Regions from separate parts of the Homo sapiens genome. Here regions 2, 3 and 4 are each linked to region 1. The links are contacts of gene promoters, found by promoter capture Hi-C in blood cells and fetal thymus (Javierre and others, 2016). All regions are on one chromosome and are shown on one strand. The core of a region is centred on a gene start or on the middle of the fragment in contact, and the rest is flanking DNA. Distances in the headings are between cores, read along the strand shown. Region 1 holds the start of HAUS6 (HAUS augmin like complex subunit 6). Region 2 overlaps MTAP (methylthioadenosine phosphorylase). Region 3 has its middle 5.3 kb from the start of KLHL9. Region 4 has its middle 5.9 kb from the start of IFNW1.

Region 1 (3,320 bases), core at 450-2,949:
AAGGTGCTTTTAGGCTGGGCACGGTGGCTCATTCCTTGGGAGGTCAAGGTGGGCAGGTCGCTTGAGCCCAGGAGTTCGAGCCCAGCCTGGGCAACTTAGTGGCTTTTCTTTCTTTCTCTCTCTCTCTCTCCTCTTTTTTTTTTTTTTTTTTGAGACAGAGTCTCACTTTGTCGCCCAGGCTGGAATGCAGTGGAAGGATCTTGGCTCACTGCAACGTCTGCCTCCCGGGTTCAAGCGATTCTTCTGCCTCAGCCTCCCGAGTAGCTGAGCTGGGATTACAGGCATGCGCTACCACGCCCGGCTAATTTTGTATTTTTAGTAGAGACGGGGTTTCTACATGTTGGTCAGGCTGGTCTCGAACTCCCCACCTCAGGTGATCCGCCCACCTTGGCCTCCCAAAGTGCTGGGATTATAGGCGTGAGCCACTGTGCCCCGCCTCTCTCTCTTTTATTAAGGTGATTTTAGTGAGGCAGGAGACAATCATTGCCAGAGGTAGCAATGAGACTTAAAAGCAGGTTACCCAATCCACTTCCAGGCCCTGTTGTCAGTGGGGTTTGTGGTAGGCAACAGCTGTCAATTAAGACGACGGGCCGGGTGCGGTGGCTCACGCCTATAATCCCAGCACTTCGGGAGGCCGAGGAGGGCGGATCACGAGGTCAGGAGATCGAGACCATCCTGGCTAACAGGGTGAAACCCCGTCTCTACTAAAAATACAAAAAATTAGCCCGGCGTGGTGGTGGGAGCCTGTAGTCCCAGCTACTCGGGAGGCTGAGGCAGGAGAATGGCGTGAACCTGGGAGGCGGAGCTTGCAGTGAGCCGAGATTGCGCCACTGCACTCCAGCCTGGGAGACAGAGCTAGACTCCGTCTCAAAAAAAAAAAAAAAAAAAAAAAAAAAATTAAGAGGACTGCAGGCGGCCAGGCGCAGTGGCTCACGCCTGTAATCCCAGCACTTTGGGAGGCCAAGACCGGCAGATAACCTGAGGTCAGGAGTTCGAGACCAGCCAGCCAACATGGTGAAACCCCGTCTCCATTAAAAATACAAAAAAATTAGCCGGGCGTGGTGGCGGACACCTGTTAATCCCAGCTACTCGGGAGGCTGAGGCAGGAGAATCGCTTGAACCCGGGAGGCGGAGGTTGCAGTGAGCCGAAATCGCGTCACTGCACCCCAACTTGAGCAACAAGAGCGAAACCCCGTCTCAAAAAAAAAAAAAAAAAAAAAAAAGACTGCAGGACTGCAGGGGAGTATAGAGCCAGATTTCATTTAAAGCAGGAAAAGGAACATCCGGCATTTGAGGACATAGATTTCGCTAACGACAGAAATGAGGCTCAGAGATTACGTGACTTGATTAGAGTCACAGTGAGCATAGCGGAGGATGGAACCAATGCTTTAACTCTACACCGAGGCATAGTGCTCCATTTATGGCTTTTTTGTGACGTAACAACTAGGATACACAAGCAAATGGACCCCACTAACCAAGAATCAGAAACCCGAAGGCCCGAGGATCTGGGCACGACAGCGGTTAAGCAAGCGCAGAGCAAGTCGCTGGCCGCGCAATGCCCGGTGGGTCTTGCAGTTTCTTGGCTGGGCATGGCCGGAAGGGAGGAGAGAAGGACGCATTGCATGGCGGGAGATATAGTCTTTGCCGGAAGTCCCTCCTCCCTCGGACGCCTGGCGGCGCCGGCGCACACTGCTCTTCCTTAAGGGCGGGAGTCTCGGTTTGTGGTGGCTTCGCTGAGGCAGTGGTGGCCGCACTATACCGTTAGAAACTCAATTTCCCGGAGGTTGTGAGGCCCTTTGAGGCGAAATCGCTCTGGGCGTGAAAGGAGCAGGCGTTGGCAATGGAAGGACCACCGCGACCTCAGGCTGACCGTAGGGAGGGATCTTGAGGGCCCTCCGAGTCCCCTGGGCTTGCGCTTTCTTTCTTTGCAGCCACCGTGCCTACCGCGAGGATGAGCTCGGCCTCGGTCACCGCTTTCGAGAAGGAGCATCTCTGGATGTATCTGCAGGCGCTCGGCTTCGAGCCAGGCCCGGCAACCATTGCCTGCGGAAAGATCGTGTCGCACACGCACCTCGGAGTGTAAGGAGGCCGGGGCCGGCGGGGCGAGGGAGCCTGAACCGGGGGACGCCGGGGGACTCCCCCTTTTGTAGACCCCGGAGGTTGATTAATCAGAATTGGTTGAGCAGTTACTCTGTGCCAGGCATTGGCTCCAAAGTTCCTACTCCCAGTTGCTGCCAGCCTAGGGGCAGAGACAGACAGTAAATAATGCAAGAGTGCCGGAAGCGCTCTGTAGGGGAGTGCAAAAGTCTGCAGATGGGGAGAGTGCAAGACTGGAGGAGCAGCTTAACTCTGCCTATGTGGTGGAGGGGTGGTCTGTGAAGTAGTGGGAGGGATGGCGGGTGGTAGTGGAAGAGCATGGGAACCATATGTACAAAACACCTTTTGGACTCAAGGGAGCCTTTGAAGGTGGTTGTTTAATTTTATAATTTTTAATTTTTTAATTAGTAAGGCATGTTGGAGTTAGCATAAAACAACGGAGAAGGGTATTAAAAACAAATACCCTTTTAAGAAAAGTATGGAAAGTAAAAGCCCCTTCCCTACTTTTTCCACTTCTGTTTTATCAACTTTAGCCAGTATCTCTATTTAATCATTCCCACTGTAGGCCAAGAGGAATTCTTTTCTTTCATATGGAGTCTCCCTCTGTTGCCAGGCTGGAGTGCAGTGGCACGATCTCGGCTCACTGCACCCTCCAACTCCCTGGTTCAAGCGATTCTCCTGCCTCAGCCTCCCGAGTAGCTGGGATTACAGGCACTTGCCACCACGCCCAACCAATTTTTGTATCTTTAGTAGAGACGGGGTTTCACCATGTTGGCCAGGATGGTCTCGATCTCCTGAGCTCATGATCCACCTGCCTCGGCCTCCCAAAGTGCTGGGATTACAGGCGTGAGCCACCGTGCCCGGCCTCTATTTTTTTAAAGTATTATTATTTTAGAGACAGTAGCTAACCATGTTGCCCAGGCTGGTCTCAAAATTCCTGGGCTCAAGCAATCCTCCTGCTTCGGTCTTCCAAAGTGCTGGGATTATAGATATGAGCCATTGTTTTTTGTTTTGAGACAGGGTCTCCCACTCTGTCGCCCAGTCTGGAGTGCAGTTGTGCGATCACAGCTCACTGCAGCCTCCAACTCCTGGGCTCAGGCGATCCTCCCACTTCACCCTCCTGAGTAGCTGGGACTACAGGTGCGTGGCACCATGCCTAGGGTCGGCATGTTGCCCAGGCTGGTCTTGAGCTCCTGGCCTCCAGCAATCCCCCCGCCTTGGCC
Region 2 (3,320 bases), core at 821-3,320, 2.7 Mb before region 1:
GGCCCCTTATCGCCCACTTTGAAATGATCCACCAGTATCATCATCTTTTTGGTTTTCCAGGTCAAAAGCAGAAATCATCCTGTTCTTCTTCCTGCACTCCCCACATCTTATCCATCTCTGTGTTCTACCTGCAAATTCTATCCCCAATCTGATTATTCCTCACCACCTCCATGGCTCCCACCCTAGACTTCAGCCCCAGCACCAAGACTTCTGGCCTGATCTCTTAGCTCTTCCCCTGCCCACAGGCTATTCTGTATACAACAGCCAGAGTAATCATTTTAAAATGTAAATCAAATGCTGCCTCCCACTCTTAACCCTTCAACAGTTTCCAAAACATTTAAAATCAAAATTCTTGATCGCGGTCTACAAGGATGGCCTTATGAGCTGCATCCACCCAATTCTCACTGTGCATCCGTGATTTCCATTCCTACCACACTGAGCTCACTTCTGCGACATCTTGGTTTTCGCTCTCCTACCCCCATCTCTCTCCTCAGGTCTTCACTTGGATCTTTACCCTTTATCCCTATTTTCACTATCAGCTTAAGTCCATTCAGGCTGCTATAACAAAATATCTTAGGACTGGGTGGCTTATAAACAGCAGAAATTTCTCATAGTCTGGAGGCTTAGCAAGTTCAAGGTCACAGCAGATTCAGTGTCTGAGGAAGGCCCACGTTTTGGCTCATAGATGGTGTCCTCTCACTTAGTAGAGGGAATAAGGCAGCTCTCTGGGGCCTCTTTTGTAAGGGCACTGCTTCCATTCATGAGGGCTCCACCTTTATGACCCCAATCACGCCCAAAGGCCCCATCTTCTAATACCATCACATTGGCGATTAGGTTTCAACATACAGATTTTGGAGGCAGACTACTGCACAGCTTAAAATCCACCTCCCTAGGAGTCTTTTCTGACACCCCTCACCCAATGGAATCTTACTGCTGTTTCACTTTCATGTCAGTTGGTTTCCCACCCTGACTAGAATATAAACTTGAAGAAAATAAATAAAGGCCTCGCTTACTCAAAGCTGCATCCCCATTGTCTAGCAGGTATTCAATAAATATTTTTGAATAGGATTCCACCAGTAGATGGCTAGATTTGAAAGATATGCCAAATATACTGCCAATCCAAAACTCAGTGGAATCTTTCACTTGCATGAGTTAACTGCACCTCTAAAATTGAGAATGAATTTAAGATCCACCCCGTTAATATCTCTATTTTAAGAAGAGAGGTACTTGGGCTGACATTAAAGGAGTACCTGGAACTGGGCTGAGTGTGTTACATGTTACTGTATTTAAATCCAGCAACCTCTCAAAGGACCTGCCAGTGACACCAATGGGGTTCAGACACACATGTGCCTCCTATACCTATACCTGGGTGGTGTGCAGTGGGCACTGGAGGCAGCCTGCTTTCTGCATACCCTCTGCCTCCCTCTTCAAGATGGACATTCTATCAAGTGCTCATTTTAATTGTGCATTAGGTCACAAGAAAACAGGGCAGAGACCACACTTCAGATTTCAGAAATGCCTCACATCTAGTTGGTGGAATGCCAGGCTCTAGGCCCAATTCTGTCATTATCTAGGTCCAGCTGTGTAATTCTGGATACTTAGCTGACCTTTCTGGGCCTCAACTTTACACCCGCAAAACGGGTTTGTGTGGCTATATGGATGGTCTTGAAGGAACACTCCAGCCCCATCATTCTATAATTTGGGAATAGGATGTGGTTTTTATTAACCTATTTTGCTCTGGACACTGGCACCTCACATCTTCTATACAGAATGTTGCCTTAGAAGTCTGGGGAATACGGTGCTGGCATCATGGAATCTCTACGGCAAAGCTGTCATCTGTTCTAAATTAAAAGAGAAATCAGCAGGCAGTCCTAGCACCATATGTACCTCTTAATTTTATATCCAGAAGCTTGCCAAGACCAAAAATACACACTATTCAATATTTACATCAGGTCTCTGAGAATCCCATTGCCCATTCTGCACTTAAATGCACTGCATTAATTTGAAGGGAAACCCTGTGGCAGGGAGAATGCTAACCAGATTAAAGTAAGACTGTTTTAAACACCATTTCTCCATTTTTAATGGCGCTTGAAGTGTATTCCTGCAAGGATAAGGTGAAAAGTTGTGGCCTAATGATACCTAACACAATAACTTAATAATTTTTGGGGAAAAGATCATTCAAAATTAATCTCAGTTCCCCCACTTATAAGCACTACCACTTAATAAGCTTCTACCATGTGCAACATAGACAATATAATTCTAGCCCTCCTAGCAAATTCTGCAGTAAAATTCTCAGTTTATAGATGAGCACCTAAGAGAAGTCACATACTTCACACGAGTTTCATGAAAACCATTTCTGCCTTGTTTCCGCCAAACAATGAAGGCAGGGGAGAGGCCTTCTATAAATATTTGCTGGATGCAAGATTCTTTTCAAAATGACAAAATAAGTTTCATATATAAGTCTGGATGCAACACCCTTCACCATTCCTCTCATTCTAAGTGGCTCATTTAAACCTGCAAGGGCGTAATAAACTAATCTGGCTGATTACACACTGACCGCAGAAATTCGCCTTCTCCCGGGAAAACTGCAGTCGAGTGTAGGGAATCGAGATGCTTTGGAGAAGATCGCAGACCTTCCTATCCCATAGGCCAAAAATTTCTAAAAATCAAACAAGAACGCATTCTTAGCCAGTAATAAACTGCCTAGAAGAGGTCTTAAGTTTTATCATCAATTTTTCTTTACGTGCTGTAATTCTCTCTCGGAATACTAACCAGGAGAGAAGTGTTTAAAACCCCAGGGAAGCCAGCTGCTACTCTCAGAACTCGTGCCCTCCTCAGCACAAAGCTTCCCACCGCACAATGACCCCTTGTATCAAGGCCTCTCAGGGCCTAGGGCACAAGGAAATTGAACTCTAACTTGCAAGGCTGCAAAACAAAGCAGTTTCAAGCCAGAGGCCTCCAAACAGTGCAGCCCTAAAAACGGACGCCTGTACTCCTTTTCGAAGAAAGTCTCAGAATTCTTACAGTATTACGCTGCTGGGGAAAACTTCAGCGCGGAGAAGGCCTACGTTTGGAGGAAAAAGAAGCCGGAAGCATACAAAAGAGCAAGTAAGCAGTTCTCCCACGTGGGCCGCAGGCAACAAGCAGAGTCAGAGAGCGGAAGCTGGAGTCCCGCAAGGCACCAGGAGACGGTCACAGAAGCTGCAGGCGCCCGGACACCTCCTGACTCCAGCCGGGTGTCTTTCTTGGAAGAAGAGTGGTTCTCAGGAATGGTGGTGGCATGGGTGCAGCCTCTCCCATCCACGACCTCTCTCTCTAAA
Region 3 (3,320 bases), core at 604-3,103, 2.2 Mb before region 1:
TTAGAACTCAAGATTAAGAAACTAACTCAAACCCACACAATTACATGGAAATTGAGCAACCTGCTCCTGAAAGACTCCTGGGTAAATAAAGAAATTAAGGCAGAAATCAAGAAGTTCTTTGAAACCAATGAGAACAATGTAATCTGATGGAAGCAAAATCATCATAAAATCCCCTGTGGCCAGCTTAGAAACTTAAAGCATAAAAAGTATTCAGCAATTTAATGAATTGAATTCAACGTAGATATAATCCACATTTGGAAAAATAAAATTAATTTTGCTATTCAACATAAAAATTTTGCAAAGGATAATTTACCCAACCCCTGCCCACGCTCACACACTGAACATAAATTTTTGCTCCTATCATCTGAAGGCTATGAAAATATTGACGTTAGTACCAGATCAAAAAAAGAGGAGATCACTGCTGACAACCTAGTTCAATCACAGCAACACTCTGCTGTCTTGGCCAATTGACTGTTTGAAGGACAAAAGCAATCATCTTCCAGTAATGATGTGCCAAAATTTCTCAATTGTGATGAGCTGACTCCTGCCAGCACATTTAGAGGGAGTTAGGGAGGGTTAAATTGGAAGATAGGTGGCTGTGTGCACATTAGGCCAGAGGGTCAGATTAAAGATGTGGTCTCTAACTTGAGGGGTAAGGAGGTGCTGGGGAAAGAATAAAAATGTTGTGGTTCTTGGGATTAGGATTGATATACCCACATCTGACTTACTACCACTGTTCGTAGAAAGCAGAGACATCAATTAGGCAAGGTAAAGAAAAGGGCCCAAATATCATTTTCCATTATTCTGAATTAATTATTGGAACACAGATACATCAGGAATGAGAGTACTGGGAAAAGATGAGAACATCATTAGACTTAGAGAACAGGCAAGGCAGGTCAGGGGAGACAGCAGGGCCTAGGGCTTCTAACCAAAGGTCACAAATAATTTATCTGAGTGTGAGAGAGGTCTTCAGAGTAAAATCCCAAACATTGTGATTCAGGGTTATGAATTGGCTGATGAAGGGAGTTCAGCACACTTGAACAGGACAGCCTTTCAATACCTTTTCATCAGCCACTTCCCCATCCCATCTCAGGTGAACCTGGGGACAAGCTTCTCTCTTGTGTAGAGCCAACATGGAAAGCAATGGCGAGCCCCTGGAAAAACTTTGATCTGATATGTACACATAGATAGATATAGATAAATATAGATATAGATAGGTAAATATAGATTAGATATCAGGTTAATAATAGCTATTTAGATAGATGAAATATATATATATGTATTGGCTTGGATCCCACTAGTCTTTGGAAATCTTAAGCTATCCCAGGAATTTTTTCTAGCACAATTGTTTTTTAAAAAGCAACTCATTTTTGAAAGCATAACACACAGAATGAAAGTATACACGTCTTACGCACACAGTGACATGGTTCCTCACACACTGAATACATTGTGAAAGTAGCAGCATGTCAGAAACAGTTTGCTCAGGACTTAGAAGCCTCTCTAGTGCTCTGTGCCAGTCAGTACCTAAGTAAGACCAACTCTTCTGCCTCTGCCCTGGGGATAGACACTCTCGCTTCTAACAGCAGTGATTATTTTTGCTAGGTAGTTTCAGCCATTTCGTATTTATTAATCTGATTGTTACAATAATCCTATGAGATCAATACTATTATTCTTCCCATATTACAGACGAGGAAACTAGGGAGCATAATGTTCATGGTACTTGCCATGGTCATATTGCTATTAAATAGCAGAGCTGGAATCCAAACCAGGAACTCTGGCTCTAGAGTCATACCCTTTAGTCACTAAATTGTGCTGTCTAAAATAGCATGGCAAGCTCGATCAACAGTCTGAATCAATACAATTAGATGTGTTTAGAGAAATAACCACTAACCACCACATAGCACTTTGTAGATTGTTCTGCACATACCTTTTGACTTCCTCCTACTTACGGCTCAGACCCTGTGAGCAGGCATCTATCTCTGAGGGAAAAAGACTTGCCCAAAGGCCACAGCTAAAAAGGAGAATATGTGAGCTGAGAACAGTTTGGGGTCTATTATTTTCTTCACCATTTCACAAAGGACAGGAGAAAATAGACCAAGAGGATTTCATGAGTAATCCTTTTCTCCAGTGAGGCCAGCTAGGCACTCTGGACATGGTTGGTGCTAAACTTGTAAGAAGTCCTATTCAGGCCCGTCTCTTTACTGAAGATTTATGTGTTACTCAACCCCTCAGAATCCTTGGGGTACCTGAGTTCTTCACTGCACTTATGCAGGTGATAGGAGGTCTGTCTGTGACCCAGACAGATGCCACAGGCAGGTAAGACAATAATTGAGGAAATGAGTGAAGCACAGTGAGTAGGGCAGACGCTGTGAGTTTGGGTCTCCAACAGGGTAACTTGTGAAGAAGAGAAAGAAAGAAGAACCTACCCGATCCTGATAGCCCCCAACCTTGGGGAAACATGATATCCACTGAGTGCATGAAGTTTTCCATCAGCACACCTAGACTCAAATCCTAACTCTGCCAATCACTTGTGCACTCTACGTGGATCACCTTTTCTCTCAGCGTCCTGCTTTCTTCATTGATAAAGTAAGCTTGATAGTATTACTATTTACACTGTAACTGGTGGATTAAAACATGTAACATATTATTTATTTTATAGATGGCACATAATAATAGATTTTTTCTTTCCCTGTTCTTTCTTAACACTGATGAAAGAAATCAAAAACAATGTTTTCTTTTAATGCCTTCTTAGTATTGAGTGCTCTTGTCAATTCTGCATTCATGACAAACAACAAAGTCTAACTTAGATACATTAAACACAGAGAAAAGAACACTGTACATACAGGTAGAACCAGCTATGAATCCTATCTCTGCCCCTCACCATTCACTAAATGGATGTCTTCAAGACATCTCTTATCAATACTGATCCGCAGATCACTCCTCATATCATCTCTGCTAAGAGAGAAATTTATAAAATGTTACCAAAGTATGAGTGGGTTTCATGACTAGGCAGTAGAGAATAGGAAACCAGTGAATCAATAAACTCACAACGTGGTGGTTTGCAGACATTCTCTGCATGGCAGCTAAATACACTTCCCTAGAAGCATCCCCATCTGGTCAGAGATGGCCTTTACTACGATGGCCATCCTTGTCCAGCCTTACTTAGGTTTCAGTATTTTTGCACAATTAGCATCCCTGGTGTACGAAGAATGTGATAAATGAGCTCTCTGAGCAGTCATCTACACTCTCTCTGAAGAGTATTTGGATTTTATTTATCCACATTAATAAAGAGAGCCCATTTGTTTGAAAGAAAGAAGTAG
Region 4 (3,320 bases), core at 315-2,814, 2.0 Mb before region 1:
AAGGAACACCTTGGCCCCTCCAGCATATCAAATGCTTAACCTTGAGGGACCACAGAAAAAAAGCCATAGTCCTGATCCCAGTACCCCCACACCCCAGCATTAAAACATGAAGTTCAGGAGTGCTGAGCTGAAACTTGTACCCCTGAAATCATCCAGAAATGAAACCAATCAACTAAACCCAACTTATACCATAGTCAAACTCTCAAGAGCTTCAAAGAATGTAAAATTTTAAAACCCCACCCAAAGGACAGCAGCTTCAAAGATTAAAGGAATATCAACCTATACAGATGAGAAAGAATCAGCACAAGAACTCAGGCACTTCTGGAAACCAGAGTGTCTTCTTACCTCCAAATGACCACACTAGCTTCCCAGCAGTGGTTCTTAATTGATGGCTAGAATGACAGACATAGAATTCAGAATCTGTATGGAAATGAAGACCATTGATATTCAATAGAAAGTTGAAATCCAATCCAAGGAATATAAAGAATCCAATAAAATAATACAAGAGCTGAAAGATGAAATAGCCATTTCAAAAAAGAAACAGCTGATCTTCTAAAGCTGAAAAACTCTTACAAGAATTATATAACACAATCAGAAGTATTAACAGCAGAATAGACTAAGCTGAGGAAGGAATCTCAGAGCTTGAAGACTCAGAGCTTCCCCAACCTTTCTAAAGAAGTTGACATACAAATTGAGGAAATTCAGAGAACCCCAGCAAGAAACTATACAAAATTAACATACCAAAGACACATAGTCATCAGATTCTTTGACATTAACATGGAAGAAAAAATATTGAAGAAAGCTAGAGAGGAGGGGCAGGTCACCTATAAAGGGAACCCCATCAGGCTAACAACATACCTTTCAGCAGAAACCTTACAAGCCAGAAGAGATTGCGGGCCTATATTCAGCATCCTTAAAGAAAAGAAATTCCAACCAAGAATTTTATATCCAGCCAAACTAAGCTTCCTTAGCAAAGGAGAAATAAAATCCTTTTCAGATAAACAAATGCTAAAGAAATTTGTTACCACCAGACCTTCCTTACAAGAGGTCCTTAAGGAAGTATTTAACATGGAAATGAAAGACTATTACCAGCCACCACAAAAACACACTTAAGTACCTAGCCCACTGACACTATAAACCAACTGCAGCCCAACTCTATATAACAGCAGGCTAACAACACAATGACAGGATCAAATCCTCACATGTCAATATTAACCTTGAATGTAAATGGGTTAAATGCCCCCATTTAAAAGACCGAGTAGCAAGATGGATAAAGAAGCAATATCCAAATGTATGCTGTCATCAAGAAACCCATCTCACATGCAATGATATCCACAGATTCAAAGTAAAGAGATGGAGAAAGATCTATCAAACAAACAGAAAAAAAAAAGAGAGTAAAGGTTATTATTCTTATTTCAAATAAAACAGACATTAAACCAGTATAATCAACAAGAACAAAAAATGGCATTACATAAAGAGCTCGATTTAACAAGAAGACTTACTACCCTAAATATATATGCACCCAAAACTAGAGTGCCCAGATTCATAAGTTTTTAGAGACCTACAAAGAGACTTAGATAACTACACAATAATAGCAAAAGACTTCCAAACCCCACTGACAGTGTTAGACAGATCAACAAGGCAGAAAACTAACAAATATATTTGAGACCTAAATGCAACACTTGATCAAATGTACCTAACAGATATCTACAGAACACTCCACCCAACAACAGCAGAGTACACATTCTCGTCTGCACATAGTGCATACTCTAAGGTCAACCACGTGCTTGTCCATAAAGCAATTCTCAACAAAATAAAAAAAAAATCATACCAAGCACACTCCTGGACCATGGTGCAATAATAATTGAAATTAATACCAAGAAGCTCTCTCAGAACCATGTAACTACATGGAAATGAGACAGCCTATTCCTGGATGACTTTCAGGTAAACAAAGAAATTAAGGCAAAAATCAAGAAATTCTTGGAAACTAATGAAAACAAAGATACAACCCTTCAGAATCTCTGGGGCACAGCTAAATCAGTATTAGGAGTAAAATTAATAGCATTAAATGGCTACATCAAAAAGTCAGAAAGATCCCAAATTAGCAAGCTAACATCACACCAAAAAGAACTAGGAAAACAAGAGTAGAACAACTCCAAAGCTTGCAGAAGAAAAGAAATAACCAAAATCAGAGTTCAACTGAAAGAAATTGAGATGTGAAAATCTATACAAAAAAGAAACGAAAACAAAGGTTTGATTTTTGAAAGAATAAATAAGGTTGACATACTGCTAGCTAAATTAATGAAGAGAAAAAGAGAGAAGATCCAAATAAACACAGATATGACAAAAGTGATGTTACACCAACCTCACAGAAATACAAAAAACTTCAGAGAGTGTTTTGAACACTTCTATGAACACAAACTAGAAAACCTAGAATAAATGGATACATTCCTGGAAACATTTAACCTCCAAAGATTGAATCAAGAAGAAATTGAATACTCGAACATACCCATAATAAGTCGTGAAATTGAATCAATACTAAAAAACAAACAAACAAACAAAGAAAAAACTTACCAACAATAAAAAGCCCTGCATCAGATGGATTCACAGCCAAATTCTACTGGACAAAAAAAGAAGAATGGATACCAATCCTATTGAAACTATTCCAAAAAATGCCTTGATCATTTTATCCATTAATGGTGATTATTATTTTATTTTACTTTGTTTTAGAGATAGGGTCTCACTCTGTCACCCATGCTGGAATGCAGTGGGAGGATCATAGCTCACTATAATCTCCAGCTTCTGGGCTCAAGCGATCTTCCCACTTCAGCCTTCGGAGTAGCTGGAACTACAGGTGCATACCACAATGCCCAGCTAATTATTTTTGTATGTACAATGTCTTGCTATGTTGCTCAGGCTGGTCTTGAACTCCTGCCTTGGCCTCCCAAAGCACTGAGATTATAGGGAAGAGCCACCATATCCAGCCAATGGTGATTTTTTTGACAAGTTTCTTTCAATCCTGTCATTGTATTTTAGGATTTTTTAAATATGATGAGGTTAGAAAAATAAAGACATCTATACTAAGTACTGTGGTGGAGTTTGGGGTTAAAACAAGATTATCCCTGGTAAGTATCCCTTCACTGCTTCATAGAAAGTACATATAGTCTGCCCTCTGGCTCATACAATAGGTTCTTTTTGGCACTGGACACTCAACCATTGTCTGGTAAGATTAGGAGGAGAAGAAATTCCTAATTGGAATCTATCAGTAGACAAAATAAAGTCTGGCCTGGAGGTGAGTTGTCCCTTTCAGGAATAAAAAC

The links. The method cuts DNA at HindIII sites, captures the fragments that hold promoters and counts their contacts. A CHiCAGO score of 5 or more calls a contact.
Region 2: a fragment that was not itself captured here is called in contact with the fragment with the promoter of HAUS6 in region 1 in 1 of 17 cell types (activated CD4 T cells); the score reaches 7.6 in activated CD4 T cells.
Region 3: a fragment that was not itself captured here is called in contact with the fragment with the promoter of HAUS6 in region 1 in 1 of 17 cell types (total CD4 T cells); the score reaches 5.1 in total CD4 T cells.
Region 4: a contact is called between a fragment that was not itself captured here and the fragment with the promoter of HAUS6 in region 1, in 1 of 17 cell types (M0 macrophages). The highest score is 5.0, in M0 macrophages.

What each region holds. Positions count from the first base shown.
Region 1 is chr9:19,101,283-19,104,602 of GRCh38, reverse strand. It overlaps HAUS6 (HAUS augmin like complex subunit 6), which reads left to right and starts at 1,699. Exons shown (of 17, transcript NM_017645.5): 1 at 1,699-2,079. The coding sequence starts at 1,952. RefSeq lists an enhancer at 1,457-2,020. The HindIII fragment of the contact is 8,228 bases long and covers 1-3,320 here.
Region 2 is chr9:21,803,086-21,806,405 of GRCh38, reverse strand. The region is part of intron 1 of MTAP (methylthioadenosine phosphorylase); the gene reads right to left. Among named protein-coding and RNA genes, the nearest start is that of MTAP, 2.1 kb to the right of the region's middle. RefSeq lists a cis regulatory region at 1,196-1,197 and enhancers at 1,125-1,269, 2,928-3,137. The HindIII fragment of the contact is 318 bases long and covers 1,912-2,229 here.
Region 3 is chr9:21,339,079-21,342,398 of GRCh38, reverse strand. No RefSeq gene overlaps it. Among named protein-coding and RNA genes, the nearest start is that of KLHL9, 5.3 kb to the right of the region's middle. The HindIII fragment of the contact is 1,481 bases long and covers 1,113-2,593 here.
Region 4 is chr9:21,146,034-21,149,353 of GRCh38, reverse strand. No RefSeq gene overlaps it. Among named protein-coding and RNA genes, the nearest start is that of IFNW1, 5.9 kb to the right of the region's middle. The HindIII fragment of the contact is 1,199 bases long and covers 965-2,163 here.